Linked DNA regions of Homo sapiens: regions 2 and 3 are each linked to region 1. The links are contacts of gene promoters, found by promoter capture Hi-C in human tissues and cell types (Jung and others, 2019). All regions are on one chromosome and are shown on one strand. The core of a region is centred on a gene start or on the middle of the fragment in contact, and the rest is flanking DNA. Distances in the headings are between cores, read along the strand shown.

Region 1 (3,206 bases), core at 206-2,705:
GAAGTGGTGATGGTGGCATTAGGGCCACCCCCAAAGCCAGCCTCACGAAAGCAGGCGGCTATGTCCGAAGGCTCCACTGCCTGCCAGGCGGCAGCCACAAAGTGCAGGGCCTCCGTGAGACCCAGCTGCAGGCCTGAGGGATCCTGGCCCTCTAGCGCGGCCATGGCCTTGAGCAGCATGGCCTGGCGGTAGTGGCCCTTCACCTGCTGGACCACTCCCCTCTCCAGCGGATGCACGGTGCCGGGAGGGAAGAAGGCCAGCTGCACATGCCGCAGGCCCGAGGTGTCCAAGGACTGGGCAGCCAAGCGGCCGGCCAACAGCAGGACCCGGCGAGACTCTGCAGCCATTCGGGTGTCCAAGGCCTTCAAGTACTTGGCCAGGGCCTGGGTGGTGACACCACCCTTGGAGTTGGCGGTGTAGTCGCAGGGCAGGCCGGCTTGGCCTGCGCGGGGCTTGGCCGACTTGCCGGCCACCAGCGGGGGCAGCTTCTCGCTGCCGTCGGCATTGGCGCATAGCAGGACGCTCAGGCGCTGGGTGGCTTGACGCGGCCGTCCGTCGCCTCCGCACAGCCCCGCGGCCTGGTCGGGCAGGAAGTCGTACCATAGACTGGTCTCGGTGGCGCTGAACACGTCCTGCGAGGCGTAGCCCTCGGCCACCGACGGCGGCTGCTCCTCCCGAGCGCGCCAACCAGTAGTGCTCCCGCCACTGCCCTCCGAGGGCACCGCGGCCGGACTGGCAGGCGCCGCCGGGGTGCGGGGGGCAGCGTTTCGCGCGCGGGCGCGGGCCACGCCGCTGCAGGACACCACGCCGTGGCGCCGGCGGAAGCGGTCCAGCCAGCCGTTGGAGGCGGTGAAGTCGTCCATGCCCAGCTCCTCGGCTATGCGCAGCGCCTTCTCCTTGAGGATGATGCCCTTGACCGGCAGGCCGGCGGCGCGGATCTGCTGGAACCAGGCGATGAGCAAGCCCTCGAGCTTGTCGTAGGGAGACAGCTTGTTGGTCTTGCGGCAGGTGGAGGCCACCCCGTACTTGCGCTCCGACGCCAGGATGGCGCGCTTGTTCTTCAGGATCGTGCTCAGCGTGGACGGCGGGATGTTGAAGCGCCGCGCGATCTCGCCCTTGCGCAGGTCCGGATTCTCCTCCACCTCCTGGATGATCCGTGACTTCTCCCGGAACGTCAGCTGTCGCCTCTTGGGGCCCATCCCGGCGCGCCCCCCGCCCCGGGGCCCGGCGCCGCCGCCGCCGCCCCGGGGCGGGGGGCCCGGGCCCGTGGCGGGGGGCACCTGGCGGCCTCTCCCGCGCGCCCCGCCCGAGACAAAGCGGCTCGCGGGCGCGGCGGCGGGGCGACGACCCGGCCGGGCCGGGGGCACCTCCGGGGACGCCGGCGGGCGCGTCGCCGGGCGGCGGGCGGCAGGCGACGGGCGCAGACGAGGGCGGGCGGCGCGGGCGCGGAAGGCAGGAAGTGCCGCGGCGCGGGGAGCTGGGAGCGCGGCGAGCGGGGCGGAGCGGGCGGAGCGGGATCTCGCGGGAAGCGCGGGGACGCCCGGCGCCTCCTCCCCGCCCTCCGCGCCCACCCCCTTCCCGCCGCCGGGACATACCGCGGGGGGGCGCTGCGGCCTGCTGGACCTGCCCGTGCTGCGGCCTCCGGCGACCCGGCAGCGACGCGGGCGGGGACGCGGTGCATCGCTACTGCGCCCGGCGGACAGCGACTTGCTGCTCAAAAAGAATAAGAACCAGGGTTTTTGTTTGTTTTTTTTTTTTTTAATTAAGGTAAAAATAACGCACTTTTTTTTTTGCGGAACCTGAAAAATTCAAGAAGTTGAAAAACGCTTTTCACGTCACCTGGAGAGATGCACAGGTAACATTTTGATACATTTCCTTCCAGTCTTTTCTCTAGATGCATGTCGTTTTCTTTTTAAAAATTTATTATATAAAACTGGCATCAGACTGTATAGACTGTATATCTGGCATCTCCTGCTGTTTTACCTGGCATCAAGTAGTGAGAATTTTGCCATATCGGTAAGTATCATTGCCAACACGCTTTTTAATGATTGTGTAGCATTCCAGCTATGAATGAACACTAGCGTATGTAACCTATTGTTACACACTTAAGTTATTTTTAAAATCAGCATTACAGTTGTAAATCTATTTGATGGTGCTAATGACATTTTTAAAGTTCTAGTAATCCCACAACCCATAGATAAACACTCATAACATCTTGGTGTGTCACTTTCTGGGCTTTTCCATGCATATAGCCATAAATGTATGTGTTTGCACTTACAGAAATAACATCATGTATATACATAAGTGTGAATCCCTGAAGCCTCCCTCTCCTGCAGCAAAACATTAAAATGCCAAGCTCTTAAAACAATGAATGTATAGCTGTGTTTTTAAAAATCTCTTAGGGCAGCACTAAGGGGAACTCCAGCATTGGCAGAGGGGAAGGCTGTGACCCAGGGGGACAGGCTGAGGACCTGGGGCTGGATGAAGCTGTGGGTGAGTGTAGACAAAGAAGAAAAGAGGACCAAGGACAGTGCCCTGGGTCCTCCAAGGTTAAGGGCTCAAGAAAGAGGCCAGGTGCAGTGGCTCACGTCTGTAATCCCAGCACTTTAGGAGGCCGAAGCAGGCGGGACCACTTGAGATCAGGAGTTCAAGACCAGCCTGGCCAATATAGTGAAACTCCGTCTCTACTAAAAATACAAAAAATTAGCCAAGTGTGGTGGCACTCACCTGTAGTCCCAGCTATTCGGGAGGCTGAGGCAGGAGAATCGCTTGAGCCTGGGAGGCAGAGGTTGCAGGGAGCCAAGATCATGCCACTGCACTCCAGCCTGGGCAAAAGAGTGAGACTCCATCTCAAAAAAAAAGAAAGAAAGAAAGAAAGAACCAAATAGAGACTCTTGAAGTGGAGGAGCCCCTGAAGCAGGAGAAAAACCAGGCTACTGTGGCATTCTGGAAGCCAAAGGAAGAAAGTGTAACTCACTGCTGTTTTAGTGCAAATTTCTGTTTTCGTATGTTTCTTGGCCATTTGAATCCTGTGAATTTTCTAGTCATATCCTTTGACCATGTGTTTGTCTTTTTCTTGACTTTTAGGAGCTCTTTACATGCTCTGAAGAAAAGATCTTGTTAAGTATGTTGCAAATGTTTTCTCCCTGTCTGCCACTTGTCTAAGTTAGTTTAGGGAATCTTTTGGATATGAGAAGTTTTTAATC
Region 2 (3,173 bases), core at 600-3,099, 140 kb before region 1:
CGCATCCCCATTGTGTGATGTGTTCAGATGCATCTGGCACCAATTAGGTATTTCTTAAAACAGGACTCATCTGTCAGAGTGCACATGAAAAATCAGGCAGGGAATCGAAACGACAGTGCTGGAGGAGACTCAGGAAGCAGAGGCGTCCCTGCCGCTGCCCTTGGCCCTGCAAGCACATCATGACCCTTTCTGGCAGCCTCTTGGTGCTCTGGGTAGTGAGGGATGACCAGTCTTGTCCTGAGAAATGTTTCTCTTAGTCTTTAAGTTCAAAGACTAACCTGTAGCAATCAGACTTTCCAAAAGGGGGTTCTCCATTTTTTGTAGTTTTGTCTAAATTTTTAATGACCATTTCCTGGAATCAGTTTATTATACTGAAAACTGGGGGTGGGAGTAGGGAGCTAGTTTGTTGATAAATAGTTCCCATTTCCCCATGGAGAATTTGACATACCCTGGACTCCTGTGTGCCTCCTGCCATCCCTGCACACAGCCTGGGGAGAAGCCTGTGCCTCCCCGTGTGGAGAGAAGGCAACCCCAGATCCCCTGAGCTAACCCGGAGGAAAGGCAGTCCTGGACAGAAGACTGTCAGCAGAAGGAAAGTACTGGACTACCCGTGGGTAAGTCCTGCCATTCAAGACTGGAGACACCTGGGAAATAAAAAGAGCAGGGCACTGCTGGTGGGAAGAGGCATTTTACCTTCCAGTGCAAATCCTGCTCCTTTGATTTAATGGGGTGTACTGGGGCCAGGGGCTGATTCACTTCCTTGGGAGATGGTGGTGTTTTCATGAACATCTTTGATCCTTCCATTTCATTTATTCATCCATCCATTCAACAAGTATTTGCTAAACACTAACTTAAGCTAATGCTAGGGTAGTGACTGAGATGTAAAAATAGATTTTAGAATTAAAACAAAATCCAAGTCCTCACACCCCTGTCATCCCAGGAGATCTTTCCTTGTGGTGGTTTCTGTGAGAATTGGCCATCCTGAGGACACAGCCAGGACGGCAGAGGCCTCCTGGCCTCAGGGCATGCCCTGCCTACCTTCTGAAATGTTTACCCCATTGACCAAACTTGGCTCCAGCCATTGCGGTGGTTTCTAGATAGCCAGGCCCACCAAGAGATATTGCCCCTTGATGAGAGTCAAACACCCTGCCTACAAGGAGATGTTTTGAAATGGAGAGGAAAATTGGCACCTCATCTTTTAAAGGCAGTAATGGAATTGATTTTCAGTAACTGAATTTGTGCACAAAACATTCTAAACACTAGTGAAGCCTGTTTCGTTGAACTAATTCTGGCTCTGGAAATGTTTTTGTTTTATAGTTATTTACGATTTCGTTTGTTTGGATTCAAGCTTAGTTTGTTAATATGTATAATTTAGCATCTATTACACTCATGTAAATATGGAGTAAGTATTGTAAACTATTTCATCGCGGGGATTGTGGGTGTTATACATACATTTAGGACTGCAATTTTTTGGTATTTTTTGTATTGTAAAATAACAGCTAATTTAAGCAGGAACAAGAGAACTAAGGGAGGTCTGTGCATTTTAAACACAAATGTGAAGAACTTGTATATAAACAAAAGTAAATACTATAATACAAACTTCCTTCTGAAATAAAAGTAGATCTGGTAAAAATGTGGCTTTTGTTCTGAGTGTTTCATTTTGATTTTGCATTGTTTTGCCTATATTTACATTTTGGTCATTAGAACCTTAAGGGAAAAAAAAAAGCGTTTACCAGTTTTCAGACTGCGTCAGAGGGAGCACTTGACAGTTAACGGAGGTGAGGGTGAAAACCCCTGGCAGGTACCTCAGACAGCCCTCCAGGCAGCTTGTGAGCCACAGACCTTCCACACAGCCTTTGTGTGCCTACAGGGCAGCTGGGCCCGTGGGGGCAGGGACAGATCTGAGCAGTGAGGTATGGACAGCCGTCTCACTGCTCCACTAACCACACCACTGTCTCCAGTGGTGCTGTTATCCCTCCACTTTGCGCTCTCCTCACAGGCTCCTGAATGTCCTCTAGGTTGTCTCCAAACTGCTAAATCTCAGGTGTGCTGACAGGTCTCAGCCGTGGCCAGTGTTTTCCTCGGCCTTGAAGTTTTGAGGAAGTTACTCCCATTGGCAAGGCCTTGTTTGGGGGCCTCCTGTGTGTCCTGCCCCCTTTTATTTGGCTCCTGCCCTCAGAATGGGTCAGAGTCATGTATTTCAGTGCAGAGTGCAGATTCCCAGTGCTAGCAGTTCCTTCCAGAAGGATGAGGTCATTGAAAGAAGGAGGAAACACAAGACGGTCACTCCTGTAGGGGAAGATGGCAGGGTACTAGGGCCAGGGCCTGAGGTGAGGGCAGGAGCCTGGAGGAGGCCTGCCTACCAGAGCTCAGGTCTGGCTTAGGGAGGGAAATGGCTGGACTAGTGGCTGCAAACAAGTTGAGAAGGACCTTGAAACTCTTCCAGGGAGGGTTATGAGAGCCACCAACAGTAACAGGATAGAAACCCTGTGATTTGGTGGTACTGTGGCAGAGACAATGCTGTGTTTACCAAACCTACTGGGCCCACAGCTCATCATTTCCCAGCCTCCCTGCAGTTAGGTTGGGACCAAGCTAAGCCATGGCCAAGGAAAGGTTGGAAGAAGTGATGGGCACCAATTCCAAACGTGGCACACAAATGCTCCCACAGGGGACTCTCCTACGGATCACATGTTAAAGACTGGAGGGACTGTGGGTCCCTGAGTCACCCCTTAGAGGCCGGCCGCCTGATCAGTAAGAGCTGTGCTGGCCTTTGCATCACTGGAAAGCAAACTCACTCTGCTGATCCACTGAGATTTGGGGCTTTGTTACACTAGTTAGCTTTTCTTATTCTCACTAATATACAAATCAGCACTTTGAAGTGCAGTGCACATGTAACCAAACCCTTAAGTACATGGCACTGGCTCAGCGTGTGGCCAGGTGGCGAGCAGTGATAAGACAGGTGCAGCTGGCAGGACAACTGAGGTCCCTGCCAGGCGGAGCAAAACATCTGGTAAGGCCGTTTCACTCGATAACTCGGAAAACAAACTCCATGTCTGCTGACTTTTTGACTTGAGGGGAATAAACAACAACAACAACAACAAATATGTGTTGATTGTTACTGGCTGCTTTTGGCGAGGCATCACGAGAAAAAGTTTACTTCAAGAAAGAATTAG
Region 3 (3,400 bases), core at 393-2,892, 180 kb after region 1:
AGATGGTAGAGTATTCCAAGATGTTAATCCTGATCCAGTGACACATTAGTTTTTACAAAATTTTTATCATAATGTATTTTCACCAGAAGTATTAATCTTTTAAAATAAATTGATAAAAGGCTACATATCATCTTAGTAATATGCATTCTTTGCTATTGAAGTCTTACAAATATAAGTTATTTAGTAATTGCTCCTTGTGGGAGTGAAGAGGAGAAATAGAACATACAGTACACTGTTGTAGCTTACTTGGCATTTCCAACTTCATTCACGTGAAAGCCTTTTTTTCCCCTTATGTAAATTCAGTTCTTGAAATCTCTAGCCTCAGCCTAAATTTCAAACCACCCAGTCAGTTTATTAAAATCAAACCAAAACAAAAAAAAAAGACAAGAAGATTTGAGTATTTTATCAGCAATCTTAGAACCAAGAAGTTCTAAGAGGGACAGATTACTTGAGATTTGGATGCCTACATGACCTGAGTTTAACACAATACACCACAGCTAAATGGGGCTGCAGTAGCATTCCTCAAAGCATGCTTGGTAGCCACATTCTTCTTAGACCAGTTCCTGTTCCCTGGACAATACCATATCATCTTCCCAGGAGTCAATATTCTAGTTTTGCTTCAAAAATGCTCAGAAGTGCCGGGTGCAGTGGCTCATGCCTGTAATCCCAGCACTTTGGGAGGCTGAGGCGGGCAGATCACGAGGTCAGGAGATCGAGACCATCTTGGCCAATATGGTGAAACTCTGTCTCTATAAAAATACAAAAATTAGCTGAGCGTGGTGACGCATGCCTGTAATCCCAGCTACTCGGGAGGCTGAGGCAGGAGAATCCCTTGAACCATGGAGTCGGAAGTTGCAGTGAGCCGAGATTGCGCCACTGCACTCCAGCCTGGCAACAAAAAAAAAAAAAAAAAAAAAAGAAAGAAAGAATAAAAAATGTAACAGGTGGCTGGGTGCGGTGGCTCACGCCTGTAATCCCAGCACTTTGGGAGGCCCAGGTGGGCAGATCACGAGGTCAGGAGTTCGAGACCTGCCTGGCTAATGTGGTGAAACCCCGTCTCTACTAAAAAATACAAAAATTAGATGGGCCTGGTGGCGTGCGCCTGTAATCCCAGCTTCTCAGGAAGCTGAGGCAGATTAGCTTCAACCTGGGAGGCAGAGGTTGCAGTGAGCTGAGATCGCACCATTGCACTCCAGCCTGGGACAGAGCAAGACTCCATCTCAAAGGAAAAAAAAAATGCTCAGAAAGGGGCTGGGTGCAGTGGTACATGCCTGTAACCCCAGTACTTTGGGAGGCTGAGGTGGGAGGACTGCTCGAGGCCAGGGATTTGAGACCAGCCTGGGAGACACAGGGAGACCCCACCTGTACAAATAAAAATAAAAATTAAAAAATTAGTTGGGCATGGTGGCATGTGCTTGTAGTACTAGTTACTCTGGAGGCTAAGATGGGAGGATCACTTGAGCCCAGGAATTCAAGGTTACAGTGAGCTATGATATCACTGCTACGCTCCAGCCTGGGTGACAAAGCAAGACTATCTCTAAAAGAGAAAGCTTTTGACATATTAGAAGGAACTAACTTCTTTGTTATTTATTGAGTATCTTTATGACCACATGAAACACCTTCTGCAAAATCTTTTCTTGAGTGGGTGGATGAGAGGAAAGATTAAAAATTTTAAAAACATGTCACTGATCAGTAGAAAGACCTAAGCTTTCTGATGAAATGGATACACTGGGTTCTAGAGAGAATTATTTTAAAAATAAGACCTATATTTGGACAGATCCTAGTAAAATTTCTGAATTCTAGGATAGAAAAACTGTGATAAGTTTCCAAAAAAAAAAAGTTGTTATAATGGAAAGCATATAGATTTGAGATTTATCCTAGGCCATGAGTATTAGAGTGGGCTTATGGAGTCAGAGAGCCAGGGGTTTAACCACGGATTTGTCAGTAATTTGGGGCTTGTTTCTTATCTTTTCTATGTCTCGGTTTCCTCATCTGATAAGACAGAATAATACTAGTAACTATTTCATAAAGTTTTAAGGGAATTAAATGACTCAACACACGAAAAGCACTTAAAGCACTTAGAACAGTACCTGGGCACATACTGTGTACTTGAGAAATGTTAGTTTTCATTATTAACTAAAATGCAACAATAAAAGATAATGGAATCACTGTCTGTATCTCCATTAAAAGACAGTCAGGTAGACTTCTGACTCCAGAAAGATGGCATAGACATACATTTCCCTATTTATCCAGCTAAATATAACTAAAAACCATGGACATTAAGTTGGACAGAAGGTAGCACACTAACTAGGGACCTGGGGACCCAAGGAACCACATGTTAACGAGTTCTCTGGGCTTTGTTTTTGTCTCCTATATCCCAGACTTAGAGCTGGCAAAGTTGGCAAACAAGAATGTCAACAGGTGAAGACAAAAAAAAAAAAAAGCCCTAATGAACGTGTTCTCTCTAGCCAAAGGATGACAAAAGGAGTAGTTAACAAGACTGAAAGCTTTTAAACAAGAATTGCCCTACTTCAGCTAAACAACCCAGAAAAAACTATGGCCACACCCCTATAGACATGCCAGCAAAGGCTGAAGGCAGAGCCTAGATTTTCACTCTTGCCAGGATGTAACGAGATGCCCCCCAGCCATCTTGCTGGGATAGTGTTAGAAAAGGCCAAGTAGGAAGCTGAAATCTGTTTTTTTTTTTTTTTTGAGATGGCGTCTTGCTCTGTCACCAGGCTGGAGTGCAGTGGTGTGATCTTGGCTCACTGCAACCTCCGCCTTCCAGGTTCAAGCGATTGTCCTGCCTCAGCCTCCCGAGTAGCTGGGACTACAGGCGCCCACCACCATGCCCAGCTAATTTTTGTATTTTTAGTAGAGACAGAGTTTCACCATGTTGGCCAGCTGGAATTTTTACACAACATGGTGAAAATGAGGCTCCACCTCAGTGATATCAGTAGAGACTACATGTGGACCCTGACTTCTACCCCTATCCAGCAGTAACAAAGTGACTATACTCCTCCTCAATGGGGTGATGACAGAGGAGGATCTCGTGAAGAATCGGGATTTTACCACCACCAAGTGGCAACAAGCACTCCTACCTTTTCCAGCCAAAGAGGTATCAGTGAAAGCCTAGTTGAGAGCTGGAACTCCCATTCCTGCCCCGTCCCCGCCCCCCATGTCAATAAAGGCTAAATAGGGAACCTGGACTTCTACCTTTACCTGGCATTAATGAAGCAGCATTACAACCCACCGTTTCACTGTCAGAGTGCTGTCAAAGGAAGCCAGTTAACACATCAGGTTTAAAAAAAATCCAGAGTCTCATAACATAATACACAAAATGTCCAGGTTTCAACTAAAAATTACTCATCGTACCAAGACTAGGAAGATCACAAATCAA

What was found. The method cuts DNA at HindIII sites, captures the fragments that hold promoters and counts their contacts. A contact is called where the count stands out against the background at its distance.
Region 2: a contact is called between a fragment that was not itself captured here and the fragment with the promoter of CENPB in region 1, in 6 of the 25 tissues and cell types used here (bladder, dorsolateral prefrontal cortex, lymphoblastoid cells and 3 more).
Region 3: a fragment that was not itself captured here is called in contact with the fragment with the promoter of CENPB in region 1 in 5 of the 25 tissues and cell types used here (dorsolateral prefrontal cortex, liver, lymphoblastoid cells and 2 more).

What each region holds. Positions count from the first base shown.
Region 1 is chr20:3,785,285-3,788,490 of GRCh38, forward strand. CENPB (centromere protein B) reads right to left here and starts at 1,456. Exons shown (of 1, transcript NM_001810.6): 1 at 1-1,456. The coding sequence starts at 1,199. It also overlaps a transcript of CDC25B not described here. RefSeq lists enhancers at 152-862, 828-967, 863-1,572 and a silencer at 1,408-1,757. The HindIII fragment of the contact is 8,329 bases long and covers 1,183-3,206 here.
Region 2 is chr20:3,649,486-3,652,658 of GRCh38, forward strand. It overlaps ATRN (attractin), which reads left to right. Exons shown (of 29, transcript NM_139321.3): 29 at 1-1,633. Among named protein-coding and RNA genes, the nearest start is that of GFRA4, 12 kb to the right of the region's middle. The HindIII fragment of the contact is 6,966 bases long and covers 1-3,173 here.
Region 3 is chr20:3,967,078-3,970,477 of GRCh38, forward strand. All of the region lies in intron 1 of RNF24 (ring finger protein 24), which reads right to left. Among named protein-coding and RNA genes, the nearest start is that of RNF24, 47 kb to the right of the region's middle. The HindIII fragment of the contact is 3,961 bases long and covers 1-3,400 here.